2 separate regions of the Homo sapiens genome follow, and region 1 is linked to region 2. The links are contacts of gene promoters, found by promoter capture Hi-C in blood cells and fetal thymus (Javierre and others, 2016). All regions are on one chromosome and are shown on one strand. The core of a region is centred on a gene start or on the middle of the fragment in contact, and the rest is flanking DNA. Distances in the headings are between cores, read along the strand shown.

The links. Contacts are between HindIII fragments. The CHiCAGO score rates a contact against its expected background, and 5 or more counts as called.
Region 1: a fragment that was not itself captured here is called in contact with the fragment with the promoter of LINC02532 in region 2 in 1 of 17 cell types (M1 macrophages); the score reaches 5.0 in M1 macrophages.

Annotation. Positions count from the first base shown.
Region 1 is chr6:106,363,430-106,370,560 of GRCh38, reverse strand. The region is part of intron 1 of CRYBG1 (crystallin beta-gamma domain containing 1); the gene reads right to left. Among named protein-coding and RNA genes, the nearest start is that of CRYBG1, 6.3 kb to the right of the region's middle. The HindIII fragment of the contact is 2,582 bases long and covers 3,626-6,207 here.
Region 2 is chr6:106,783,780-106,790,503 of GRCh38, reverse strand. It overlaps LINC02532 (long intergenic non-protein coding RNA 2532), which reads left to right and starts at 2,963. Exons shown (of 7, transcript NR_033557.2): 1 at 2,963-3,245. It overlaps MIR587 (microRNA 587), which reads right to left and starts at 6,379; the gene lies at 6,284-6,379. The HindIII fragment of the contact is 9,342 bases long and covers 1-6,724 here.

The DNA of each region.
Region 1 (7,131 bases), core at 3,667-6,166, 420 kb after region 2:
AATGTAAGGTGGAACCTGTATTCATTGCCAGGGAATCCTCAAGAATAAGTCAGGAGGTAAAACCAATGGATTCAAGCAGCAGGGCTTCTAGAGGCCTAAAGTTAGAGCAGCCAGGAGCAGCTTTCTGCAGCAACTGGTAAAGCAACTACTTGAGAAATTCTGCCATGCCTCTTTAGCATGGGCAGCAACTAGAGGGCCCCCCATCTACCACTTATCTCTGACCTTGCATTCTCCTGCCTGTGTCAGGGCAGAAGAAGGGGTACGAAGTAGGTCCACCTCTTGGTAATGCTTTTTTCTGACACAGCTTGGGCAGAAGCCCCAAACTCAGAATCTACACATGATACTTTCATTTATAATATATACTTTTGAATTTCTGTTTTAAAATCTTTTTTCATCTAAGATTTTAATGAACTTATATTTCTATTAATTAACATATTTCTTTCCACTATTTAACGTAGAAATTGTCTAGTACCAAAACTTAATTTATCATATGTATTTTAATTTCTACTTGTGAGATCTAGAGGCTAAATGAACTCATATAAGAATATAAAGAAAGCACCATTAACCACAGTGATTAACTTGCAGGGATTTACCTGCAGTGATTAACCACAAGGACTCAAGATCACCGGCTGGGGAATCCCAGCCTCACTCTTAATGAGCTCTGTGACTTTGACCAAATAATCATACCCCTCTGTGCCTGATTTTTCCTCAATATGGGACTAATAATAGTGCCTACCTCTGAGGAAAGTTATAAATTAACTGTAGTGGGTTAATATTTGTAAAGCACTTAGAACAGTGTCTGATACATAGTGCATATTGAATAAACTGCATCTCTCAATCAAATATTGATGGGAAACAATGTTTTCACAGACATGGTCTGAAGTTATTATAAAGCACATGCTTCCTCTATTTTCTTATCTTATATGCAGCATATATTATTTTGACCCTTGATCCTAATCATAAGATTAAAAAACGAATCCAAAGACTATCATGAGCTTATGCTACTACTTATAAACAAATTTGAAAAAAATTAAGAGGTGTACTCTGCATGGTGACTTTATGTAACTGTTGGCCAAATCTCATATTTGAGCTGTCGATATTACCTTTGGAATAAACCTAAATTCTAATGACTGAGACTCAGTTAGGGTTGCTAGCTTGAAATGGCACAAACAATAAACACAACCAGCAGCCAACTTTCTTCCCCACAGTATCTTTTGCCAAGCTTAACACCAACCTACTTTTACTCATTTAATTGCCATTTATGAGAAGGTAACAAACAAAAGGTACTTGTTAATTGTGTTTCTTTTTGTGTGTGTTAGCTATGGGTGCAACCTTTACTTGTCTATAACATGCCAGTGAGAGAGGTCGGGGACACTGCAAATGGATTCTGATTCTCTGCCCCATTTGTATGTCCTTGGGCCTCCTGGTACTTTGTCAAAATGTATGCTTTCATGAGATATTTATGAATCCATCAGTATTCTGAACACATTTAAATGACAAATCATGAATAAAATATATTATGTGTCACATTACTAGCATTACTTCAAGCTCTGTAAAGGGAGTTCTTGCATAGGTAACAATATATTGATAGGCTCCATCATTTTAAGTGACATTTTGTTGTTACAAATATGGTTCCTTCAAGCTTTAAATTTTTTTTGAAAACATGAATTAAGTTATGGTTGTTTATTTTTTTTTAAGTAGTAGGTGAGGTACTAATTATGGCAGAAACTCTTAAACTATTCAGTATCTCAGTAACCACACTATAGTATATACTGTATACTGGCTGAATAATTAGCAACTCAATCTAGGTCTCTGTTATGAGGGGTCATTGCTTCTCTTCCACTGAACGGAACAATCCAGAAGATGCACAGTGCTGTAAAGGCAGCACTAAGCAAGGGCTCACTCTCTAGAGGGAAGACTTCTCATATATTTGAATCTGTACAGGTATGTTGATGAGGCATTTGGGTTAGCCCAATGCAGCTATGTTTTAAGGCAACTGTAAATGAGCTAATGAGACTCATAAGCAATTCGCTGGTCATTCTTGCTAAGCTCCTCACAAGCATTAGACAGTCATACATCCTGTATCTTGAAAACTCACTTTGGGACAAGTTTTTCAAGGTAGACAGAAGAACACACCATTCAAGCTTCAAACGATCTTCTCATGTTGACCAGACACAGATTTTCAATACATAAATCACTTTTCTTCTGCATGGACATTCCTGAAACATAACTGACCCCTTAGCTGAACTCAAACTTTAAGACAGATGTGTGTGTGTGTGTGTGTATGTGTGTGTATGTATCTTTTTTAAGAGATGGGATCTCGCTATGTTGACCAGGTTGCTCTCAAACTCCTGGCCTCAAGTAAGTGATCCACCTGCCTCCACCTCCCAAAGTGCTGGGATTATAGGTGTGAGCCACCATGCCTGGCTCAGATATGTATTTTTAATGTTCATAGTAAGATATGTATTTTGAATGACTATTAGGAATTAGAAACTATTTCAATATCTAATATGTTTACTACATTGTTTTAATTGTGGACAAATACTACAGCAGCAACTCACTATCTCAGCTTACAAAAAAGATGTACTCATTTATTATTACGATTATTTTAGAGACAAGGTCTCACTCTGTCACCCAGGCTAGAGTGCAGTAGCATGATCATAACTCCTGGGCTCAAATGATCCTCCCACTTCAGCCTCCCCAGTAGCTGAGACCACAGGTGTGTGCCACCACACCTGGCTAATTTTTTTTTTTTTTTTTTGGATAAGCAGGGTCTGAGTTTGTTGCCTAGGCTGTCTTGAACTCCTAGGCTCAAGCAATCCTCCTGTCTCAGCATCCCAAAGTGCTGGGATTACAGGCATGAGCCACCATGCTGACCTAAAAATAAGATTTATAATCAAAAGCCATACATTCTGGCAAAACTATTAATGAAAAAGGGAGTATATATGTATTTGATTTTTTTTTTTTTTTTTTTTTAGACAGAGTCTGGCTCTGTTGCCAGGCTGGAGTACGGTGGCACAATCTTGGCTCACTGCAACCTCTGACTCCCTGGTTCAAGTGATTCTCCTGCCTCAACCTCCCAAGTAGACGGGATTACAGGCGTATGCCACCACGCCCAGCTAATCTTTGTATTTTTAGTAGAGACGGGGTTTCACCATGTTGACCAGGATGGTCTGGATCTCCTGACCTTGTGATCCGCCCACTTTGGCCTCCCAAAGTGCTGGGATTACAGGTGTGAGCCACCACACCTGGCCCAATATTTTTTTAAAAAAGAGCTAAAGAAGAAAAAAGAAGTGAACTCAAGTTTCGAAGGTCTTACTAAAGGTCCCCAAAAGGGTTTATGTCACTGCCACTTGATTATGGAGAGTAGATTGTGATGGAAAGTGTGGAAATAGAGGGGGGATAAAGTAATTCAATGACAGAGATAAGTGGCAAATGATTATCGTATGCTAAACTCAGACTCCAAAATCCCTTTGGGAAAAACTCCTGTAATGTCAAGTAGAAAGTTTAGCCTTGGCTTCCTCAGTGAGATATATTAAGACTTTTAAGGCACTGAGAGCGCATGAAGGGTCTCCCTTTTAGAGACCAACATGAACATCCAAATACTCAAAGGTACTTCAAAGCTTAACAGACCTGGTTACGACTTCTGGGCCTCTGAAGTTTTTACTCCACTCACAAAGTAACAATGTATGTATTAATACTACTACCATTACTATAAAGACAACAATAATTACAACTATCACTGCCAGTATTGCCCCTGCTACTGACCACCACCTTTCCTCTATCCAGCACTTGCTTTGAGCCAAGCCCTGTGCTGGGTGCTTTACATAGATAACATCCAATCCTCCTACAGCTCCATAAGAGAAGTGTAATTGCCTCCATTTTACAGGTGAAGAAACTGAGACTTAAAGAGGTTAAAAATCTATCCCAATGGCAGAGGCAGATTTGAAACTAAGTCTGCCCAACACCAAAGTCTACTATCCTTTGACTGTGGCATGCTTTCAGAGGTACTATTTACTGAGTTTCTGTTATCTGCCAGGTACTAGGCTAGTCATTTTTAAAAAATATATATTTATAACTCTCAAAAACAATGTTAAGAGATAGGTCACAGATCATACAACAGAAGTTATCGGGGTAAACTAACTTCCCAAGAAGCTCACAGCTAGTGGCAGACTTACTTTTAAATTACTGGTTTATCACTGGTGAAATAAAATAAACCTAAAAATTAAAACTCTTTCCTTTAGTATAAGGAAAATAAGAGGGAAAACTCAGTACTAACCAGTTTAAATCTAACATTACATAAAACAAAAATAGACTTACCTGGCTATGTTCTTTATGCTAGAAAATAATTAAACCTGTTTAGAGTTCTAAGCACCAAACCAGCCACAAAAGACTGGAAACTAGAATCAATTTTAAGTTACGAAGACTAACACTCTACAGTTCCAGAATGCTTTCAAATAACATTTTAAATGATTGTTCTTTTTCTGAAGAAAAAAGAAAAACGCTCCAGATAACAATAGTTTATCCTTACAACATTCTAGTGATATAAACAGGGAGTTAGTTGTTTTCTCTTTATAGAAGGGAAAGGTCCACTGAGTACAGAAAAACTAAGGGATTGTCTATAGTTCTGAAACTTGAGCCTGCTGGCCTTCACTCAGAGGTAGATCTCTGCCTGCCCAATGAGGATGCTCTGCCCTTGACACTGGCTACACTTTTCCTCCAACTGAAACAAGGCGAGCTGATTTTCACAGGATTATGAGACCCATCTACTGCTTGAATTTGGCTCTCCTGCAGGGAGCATTAATGCTTGTTTCTAGATGTGGAGTTCAATTCAGTTCAATGGTGATAATTTTTAATTCACTGCTTTTTTTAAAAAAAAATACAGGTTCTTAAACAAAGAACTCAATGGAAATAATTCACTGCTTTTGACCTTTAGCTAAGGACCCACTTCTAATCAAAATAACAAAAAGTATGGCCACATGTGGTGGCTCACACCCGTAATCCTAGCACTTGGGAGGCCAAGGCGGGAGGACTGCTTGAGCCTAGGAGTTTGAGACCAGCCTGGGCAACATAGTGAGACCCTGTCTCTATTTATGTTTTTTTTTTTTTGGTTTTGTTTCGTTTTGCTTTTTTTGAGACAGAGTCTCACTCTGTCACCCAGTCTGGGGTGCAATGGCACGATCTCAGATCACTGCAACCTCCACCTCCCAGGTTCAAGTGATTTTCCTGCATCAGCCTCCCAAGTAGCTATGATTACAGGCGTCCGCCACCACCCCTGGCTAATTTTTTGTATTTTTACATACATGGTTTCACCATGTTGGCCAGGCTGGTCTTGAACTCCTGACCTCAGGTGATCCACCCGCCTCCACCTCCTAAAGTGCTGGGATTACAGGTGTGGGCCACCACATGCAGCCTTTTTATGTTTTAATATTTTTACTATTTTTAATATTTAAAAAAACCAAAATAACACAAAGTGGCTTGAATAGATAAAAAGAAAGTACCACTTTCATTATATAGCAGAAAAACACACAAAATTCCTACTCCAAAGGAGGCATAAGCAAGAAACTAGTAAGAAAAAGAGAAACAACTCCCATTGGTTGAGCACATACTATGTGCCAACCACTGTTCTGAGCACTTGAAATGCATTAACTCGTTTATTTTTATAACAACTCTTATGATTCCCATTTTGTGAATGAGAAAATTGTGGCACAAAAATGTTAATAACTTTCCTAGGATGATAGGATTCAGTGTCATGGTAAGTATTAACAGAAGAACAAGAATTTAAATCCAAGTAGAGAATCCACATTCTGAGCACATTATTCACAAGACAGAGTATAATTTAAAATGTGGTAAATGACAGTGCCACTAGTGGCTGCTAAGTGGCCTGGCCACAGCTCGCCATGCTCATTCCACCACACCACTAGACCCTCTAATGGCAAGAGAATTATGGACTAGACAGGGGATGGGGCTGACTCAGGAGGGCAGCAACTCTATCTTTGTGAAAAATAACATCATATGACCATGTTTACCAAAACCAAGCTGAAAAAAAACTTTAAGAGTAAATTTTGGAAAGAGAAGTAGCCAAGTTCAAATTATTTCATATAAAGAAATAATTGATTAGAATGTCTATACCAAAAGCCACAAATATTTGCAGAATACGAAAATCTGACTTTAATAAACTTTAAATCATCTTTGGACTGGCAAGCTTTTCTTTCTTTTTTTTTTTATTTTTTGAGATGGAGTTTCACTCTTGTTGCCCAGGCTAGAGTGCGATGGCATGATCTTGGCTCACCACAACCTTCATCTCCTGGGTTCAAGGGATTCTCCTGTCTCAGCCTCCTGAGTAGCTGGGATTACAGGTGTGAGCCACCATGCCCAGCTAATTTTTTTGTACTTTTAGTAAAGATGAGGTTTCACTATGTTGGCCAAGCTGGTCTCAAACTCCTGACCTCAGGTGATCCACCTGCTTTGGCCTCCCAAAGTACTGGGATTAGAGGCGTGAGTGACCGCACCCGGCTGGACTGGTAAACTTTTCTAGGAAAAGATCTTCCTAGAGTTGGTTTTCCCCTATCCAAACCTATCTTTTCCATTTCTTCCATTAGACCTTTGCTTTGATGATGATGATGATGATGATGATGACCAGGATGCTTTTGCATTTACTGAGTTTCTACTTTGTGCTCAGAAGTGTGTTAAGGTTTTTGCACTTAATAACATAAACTTTCATTTAATATTCATGACAACCCTACAGAGTCAGCATCCTATTGTCTCCATATTACAGATGAGGAAATTGAGATTTTAAGAGGTGAAATAACTTGCCCAAGGTCACAAAGCTAGTAGATAAATTCATTTTTTTCTGACCTAAACACCCATAATATTAATCAAATAAGCAAATATGGGTGGCTACCTGACTGTCCCCTCCTTATTTAGAGACAAAAACCACAGTGAGTGCTGCACATTCCAGCCAAATTCCATCACTTCCAAGTCCTGGACAGAAATGAAGGGATATGGTCAGGAGGCTTAAGAGAGCCACACTGGGCAAACTGGCTTGAAATCTAAGGGTGCTTTTGCCACTCTCTTTAAACCAGAAAGAAGTACACTCTCTTAGAAGTAAATGAAATATTTATAAAGATG
Region 2 (6,724 bases), core at 1,714-4,213:
TATGGTGGGTAGTGCTGGCACATTTGGCTGACTTTCACTGAAGATTTGGGGTAGCAGAAGAAAATTACAGTTCTACCTAATGCAGCACAAAAACATGCCAAGTCACACTAGACAAACTCTTACAAATTTCTAACAGGTTGTTTTAAGTACCAAAACCTCCTTCCTTTTTCTCTGGAAAGCCCCTTCTCTCTTCAATAACCATCCTCTTTCTTCAAGTGCTAGGGCCAATTTGGCAACCCTCCATCATTTTATTATGCTGAGTAGTCCAGCTCTTTTTAATTTTTTTTCTGTCTTCCAGACCAGGTCCTGGGGACCACCCTTCCTAAAGCAAAAGGGGAGGGATGCATCCGTCATTTTCCTCTGTGCTTTGGCCTGTGTGACCATGGGACAGTTATAGAGCCATGGTGAGCCTCCATTTACTTGTCTGCTATTTACTTGTCTACTTTGGAAGTGGAGAGTAACAGTACTTAAACCCCAGGATTATTGTAAAGATACAGTGAACATAAATCACTTAGACTGCACCAGAGCTTAGTGTCTGTTTATTCGTATGATTTCTCTGACTTTCACAACTTCTGGAGACATCCAACCTTGTTTCTCCTCTTGTTAGATAGTGAGAGTTTCTGCTGTTCCTGTCCTCCTGGACAGAGGGAGGTAAGTACTGTCCATCAGGGCACATTCTTGAAGTCTTTGCCTCTGCTGCGGGTGGTCCCTTTTTTTGATGTAGACGGCAGGAAAGAGTCTCAGTGTCCTGAAAGTGACCAGGCCTAGCCCTGCCCAGGACAAGAAGGTAGAAAGTGGAGGCCACAGTTGCTGTGGTCTGTTGATGAAGTGTTTGAATTGTATATTGACCCCACAGGAAATTAGATCATAGACAGTCACATGGCCCTGGAGACTTGGAGTAAGAACTGATGAGGGAGGCTCAAATGTTTGATGCATGGTTTCCTTTGAGAACAACTGGGAGGGAGTGGAAGGAATGGAATGGCATAGAAGCAAGGAAATGGATTTTAACAGTAGGATTTAAAGTGTCTATGACTATTGAAGTGTGTTGTGGATGAGATTTGGTGCATATGAATAAATACAAAGAGATGCTGTTCAGGGCCTTATGTAAGCAAGAATGGAACAGAGGGAGAGGGAGAGCTCAGCAGCCTTGCTGAGGCAATGGAGGCATGTGCACCAGAGCCAGGGCCAAGTGTGGCAAAATCTACTAAAGGTTCTTCAGAGGCTAGCCCACAATAGGATGGCCCCTGAAGTCCAGTAAATCTTGGTGTTCCACTCACCCCCTCCCCTGATGCGAGGTGCAGCTCCCTCTTTCCCCAGGGGCCCTTCCTCTTGACTGCCTCCCCCAGGATAGGGGGATGGCTATGCCCTGCTGGTTCCTGACCTTCTCCTGCTCCGTTGGAGACCATTATGCTTAAGCATTGATTATCTGTGTCCAGTCAGTGTTTTGCAGCATTCCTGGTGCAAATGGCCTGCCTGTGTGCTGAAGTGGAAGGAAAGGGCTCTTAGGGGCACATTCTGTGGTCCAGGAGGACACAGAGCTGACCTTATCTCTAGCTATTGGCCATCTGTGTTCCCTGGAGCAACAGAACACCAGGTGCAGAGCCCCAACATGGGGATGGAGCTTGGAAACCTGGCTGGAAACAGAAATGGAGCTACCCTGTTAGGTGGGGGACTTGGGCAGGAGAGTGAAAAGGCTCCTGTTTCTAGTGGGCGGAGAGTCTGGGGGTAGGGGTCTGGGTTCTCTCAGATGGCCTGTAGAAGAAGGGAAGATGCTGCAGAGAGGAAAAAGCCCCCATAAGGGACCAGATGCTGCACCCCCAGGTCCTATTTGATTTAGGGAATGAAGGAGGGAGGAGAAAAGAAAGAAGAAGAGGGGGAAGGAAGCTGCAGACTACTTGTTCTGGGCTAGACGCCATGCTGGGCTCCAAGAAGAGGTACAAAACACTGCATGGCACCCAGCACGTACAAGTCCCTTGGTCAGTACAGCTGTTATCATTACGAGTGACGTTACTGCTTAATTCTAACAACACCACCATAAGGCAGGTATTATTATACTATCTCTATTTTGTGGATGACAAAATTGAGGTTCAGAAAAGAGAAGCAATTGGTGTAGGGGGTTGAAAATTGAAACACAGCGTATCTGACTCCAACGCCTGTGTGTCCAAGCCCTGTGATAGGGAAAGATGTAGGTGTTCCACAGTACCTGGCAAGGCAACAACTGGCGATGGTAAAGGGCCAGTATGGAGTGGGGTTGGGTGAGGGTAGGGGAGTTAGGGAGGGAAAGAAGCCCTCTCCCTTGAAAAGTTCCCCAGGGCTGGGCTGCCGTGCAAAGCCACTCGCCAGGAAGTATGGGACCAACGGAGGCCAGAGGCAAGACTCTCCTGGCTGCCCCACAGGCTTAGAGCTGGGAGGCAGGTGCTGCGTGCCAGCAGGAAGAGCAGCCACTAGAAGAGAGAGAAGTAGCCCTGGCACCTGGGGGAGCCATACCTGGGATGGACAAAGGTAGGCATGGCTGCTGAGCCTGCACTGAGTAGATGGTCCTGGATGCTCCGGCAGGTGTGGTGCGGCTTGGTTTCCAGCAATCTTGCTGGTGGGTGTTCAGCCACTGACTGTATGTGTATATCTTTGTCATTGTTGTTATCAGTATTATGGTGATGACTTTCTCTGACTTTTATGCATTTAGGCTAAAGGAACCTGGAAAAACACATGAATCAAAATAAAAGTTGATTCACCTTTCCAGGGCAGAGTTACAAGCGTCAAAACTCTCAGGCGAGATCTGCCAGTGACGTTCTGACCGCATGCCTCTCTGCAAGGAAAGTGGTATGTGTTGTTTTTTCCAGCAGTGGAAATACAAATGATTAACTCTGGAAACCATGGCTGTTTCACTGATAACTAATTTGTTTGCTGATAAATGATTACCCAGGAGCCAGAATAGAGACCCAAAAGTCAAACTGCAAAAATTATTAAGTTCCCTCTGTATGCAGAATATTGTGCAACATGGTTATGGGTACTACAGTGGATGTGAGTGTGTAGACCTTGTACAATAGAGCTTATAGGCTAATGAGAAGACAGGAAGAAACAACAGGAACACATATAGCTGGAATGCAGATGGGATCTGTGCTACTTACGCTAGCCATGGGATGATTAGAACAAGATAAGAGACATGAGGAAGACTTCTTCAAGGAGGTGCTCAAGCCATGTTTTGGAAAAGAGAACTCAAGGTCTGGCAGGGAGAAAGGAGCAAGGTAACCAGGGGAAGTCTTGGAGGAGAGCAAGATGATGCTGAAACTGCCCTCACTGTTGGTTTTAATGTTGTTCTTGTCTTACTGGTCGATTCAGAGCATTCACGGTGCAAGAGAGATAGGGACATTTGATTTAAGAAATAGAGCAGAATCTCCTCAAATTAAATCAGAATTTTTGATGGAGTAGAGGTCAGAGCTATGTTTTGGAAGTGTTTGGGAAATTGTTAGTTTTGTTCCCAGGATCTGATGCTTTTGTGGTTGAATATTCCATGTGAATGTTTTCTCTGCCCATGCAAATAGTAGGTCTCCCAGACAAATATCTCAGTGGTGCCAGCACTTCATTTTCCAAATGTAGGAGGATCTTTCTAATACTTCCTTTGTGGGGAACATGAAACTGTTGGAGGCTTGTAATCATATCTATATTTTAAAGAAAGATTTTTTTTATCAACAGGCTATATGGAAATATATTCAAAACTGTTAGTATTATGGTTGGATATTAATTTTGAAGTATTATATAGTTTTTTTCCTCCTGTATTTCTTTCTTAACCCTCTCACCTACTTCTCTTCTTGTTTTTATTATTTATTTATTTATTTATTTTGAGGCAGAGTCTCACTCTGTTGCCCAGGCTGGAGTGCAGTGGCATGGTCTCCACTCACTGCAACCTCCATCTCCCAGGTTCAAGTGATTCTCTTGCCTCAGCCTCCCAAGTATTTGGGGTTACAGGCATGTGCCACCACACCCAGCTAATGTTTGTATTTTTAGTAGAGACAGGGTTTTGCCATGTTCTCCAGGCTGGTCTCGAATCCCTGACCTCAGGTGATCCCCCCGCCTCGGCCTCCCAAAGTACTTCTTGCTTTTTTGAGCAAGGTTACTCTGTCCTCATTGTCTTAGTGAAGGGATAGTCAACAGGGGACAGAGATATAGAAGCCCATTTTCCTGGCTTTTGAGTTTTTAAAGCCCTTGTGTGTAAAGGAAGGACTCTGACTTATACAAGAGATTTAGGAGAATATGTGGTGCTCCACTTGAAGCTCCCTGTCTCCAGTATCTGGGGACTTGGTGTGGGGGAGGTGGGTCACAGAGAAAGTAAGAACTGTATATTCATTAGGGAATTCTTGAATGTGGTATTGTGTGTCCTGGGTGAATGGGAATGGAACCCACTGATTAGCTTGTCGACATTTCTGTAGACTAAGATTTGTACCTGCAACTGTCTAGTGCTAAATGGTAAATATTTTTCTTCCAGTTGATTTGCCTGGGGTTCTCATTAACTTTCTAGAAGATTTTGGATAGAACTCTTGGATATTTAATGTCACAAATTTTAGTTTTGATCTTGCCTCTTGGGCTCAATGTTGCATTCCTGTAACTCTCCAAATTACCGAAAAACAATTATTGGAATAACCCAAGTTTACATGAAAAGTAAACACAGCAAAGAGCTGGAAAAACAGCATGTGATGGGTCATGGCCAGATTTGCCCATGGAAAGCCCCTAAGTGGATGTAAGTAGAAAATTCTTAGGTCCTGTAACATAAGTGCAGATAAAGGGAAGTTGCTTAATATGGAGCACCAGCACAGAAAAGAAGAATGATTTTACGTAAACATTGTGCAGTAAGTCTCTTAGAACCCCAAACCTGGGGCATAGGCCTAGGGGATGTGGTTTATTGGGTTAAAGAAGGATTGTCTGAAACGGTGATATACATCATCCTAGGGGCTGGCATGCCCTTTCTGGAGGGGAGAGGAGCCTTTGTTCTGGGCTTCTGGAGTCTTGTAGATTCCTCATCCTGAGAGCTGCTGCCCACAGCCACCACCCCACGTAGGTGTATCCAGTTTAGAAACAAAAGGGGGACTCTGGCAGGCTGGCTGCTATGCTGTATTTGTGGTCATTATTACTATTATTATTATTATTATTATTTTTTTTTTTTTGAGATGGAGTTTCGCTTTTGTTGGCCCAGGCTAGAGTGCAATGGTGCGATCTCAGTTCATCGCAACCGCTGCCTCCTGGGTTCAAGCAATTCATCTGCCTCAGCCTCCTGAGTACCTGGGATTACAGGCATGCGCCACCACGCCCCGCCAATTTTGTATTTTTAGTAGAGACGAGGTTTCTCCATGTTGGTCAGGCTGGTCTCGAACTCCCAATCTCAAGTGATCTGCCCACCTCAGCCTCCCAAAGTGCTGGGATTATAGGCATGAGCCACTGCACCCGGCCTTGTGGTCATTATTTTTAAATACTGTAGTATAAGTAATGGAATATGTGTGTAAACCAATTAATCCTAATCTGCTTTTACTCTTTAGGGTTGATTAATTAATGGATAACACAAAAAAGTGAACTCTAGTCTGTGTCAACAACTGAGTTTCCTTTATTTGCACACAAAAGTGTTAAAAGTAATTGTTGATTTGGCAAACCAGCAGATTTTTTTTTGTTTGGTTAGGAGTAATCTAATGGGACTAATTGTCTTGTGTGAATAAGGGATAAAAATGATCAAGCCCAATAATTATGCCATCTGTGTAGGGCTGGGAGTCTAGAGCCCACTGGTGTGACATCTCCAAGGATAAGACCACTCTCCCCTTGCCCCCCACCATCTAACCATAGGAAACCAGTCTTTGCGTTTGCTTCAAAAACTTGTCTCCAACATTTGCAGGCTGGGGCAAGAGTGCAAATGGAGACCCACATAGCATATGTTTAAACATCTAAAAGCTATAAATCCAGCTAAGAAACCATAATATAGAACATACTCTATCCTCTTGCCTTGAAAAATATATATTCAGAGGGACCTAGAATATCAAGTTTGGATATAGAATTCTTCAACTCAGAGTTCCATCTGCTTGTCCCAGTGTCTCCGTTCTCTGTCTGCTCCCAGCTCCATCCCTCATCCCATATTAAAGACACCCCAGTCTGCATAGCCCATTCTTTATAAATGGCTGCCTGGTGGCCTAGGGATGAGGACAGCCATGAGACAGATGATCCTCAGGACTCAGACCCCCTGAAGAGGCCTGAAGTGAGTTCAGGGCCCTTGGGATCCTGGGCACCAAAGAGTGGTTTAGGTGGGATATGGGATGGGCTTTCCACTGGTGATGAGTCACAGGTGCAGACACATTCCCTGAGCCCTGTGACTCATCACCTATGGAAAGAGGGTGCATAGGAGGGGCAGAAAGAGACCTTTTAAAGGACAGCAACTCTCTCTTGCCTGGGTATTTCTGCTGTTTTTTTTGGGGGGAGCCGGAGGTTGCAAGGAGAGAGATAGAGAGAGAGAGAGAGAGAGACCTCTCCTCTTAGCAAGGTTTTAAAAGATTAATATAATCTGGTATCTAACAAAGATCCCTGCATTTGATGAAATGTGGTCTGAGCTGAGACTTGCATTTATTGCAACAGCTCCACTTGGTAGCAAGCTAATCAGGGTGGGGACCTACAGTCTCTACTTGTGTCCAACCACAGGAGGTGACTGATATTTTTTATGGTGAGATCATGGCTTACTGATGCAGAATCAAGC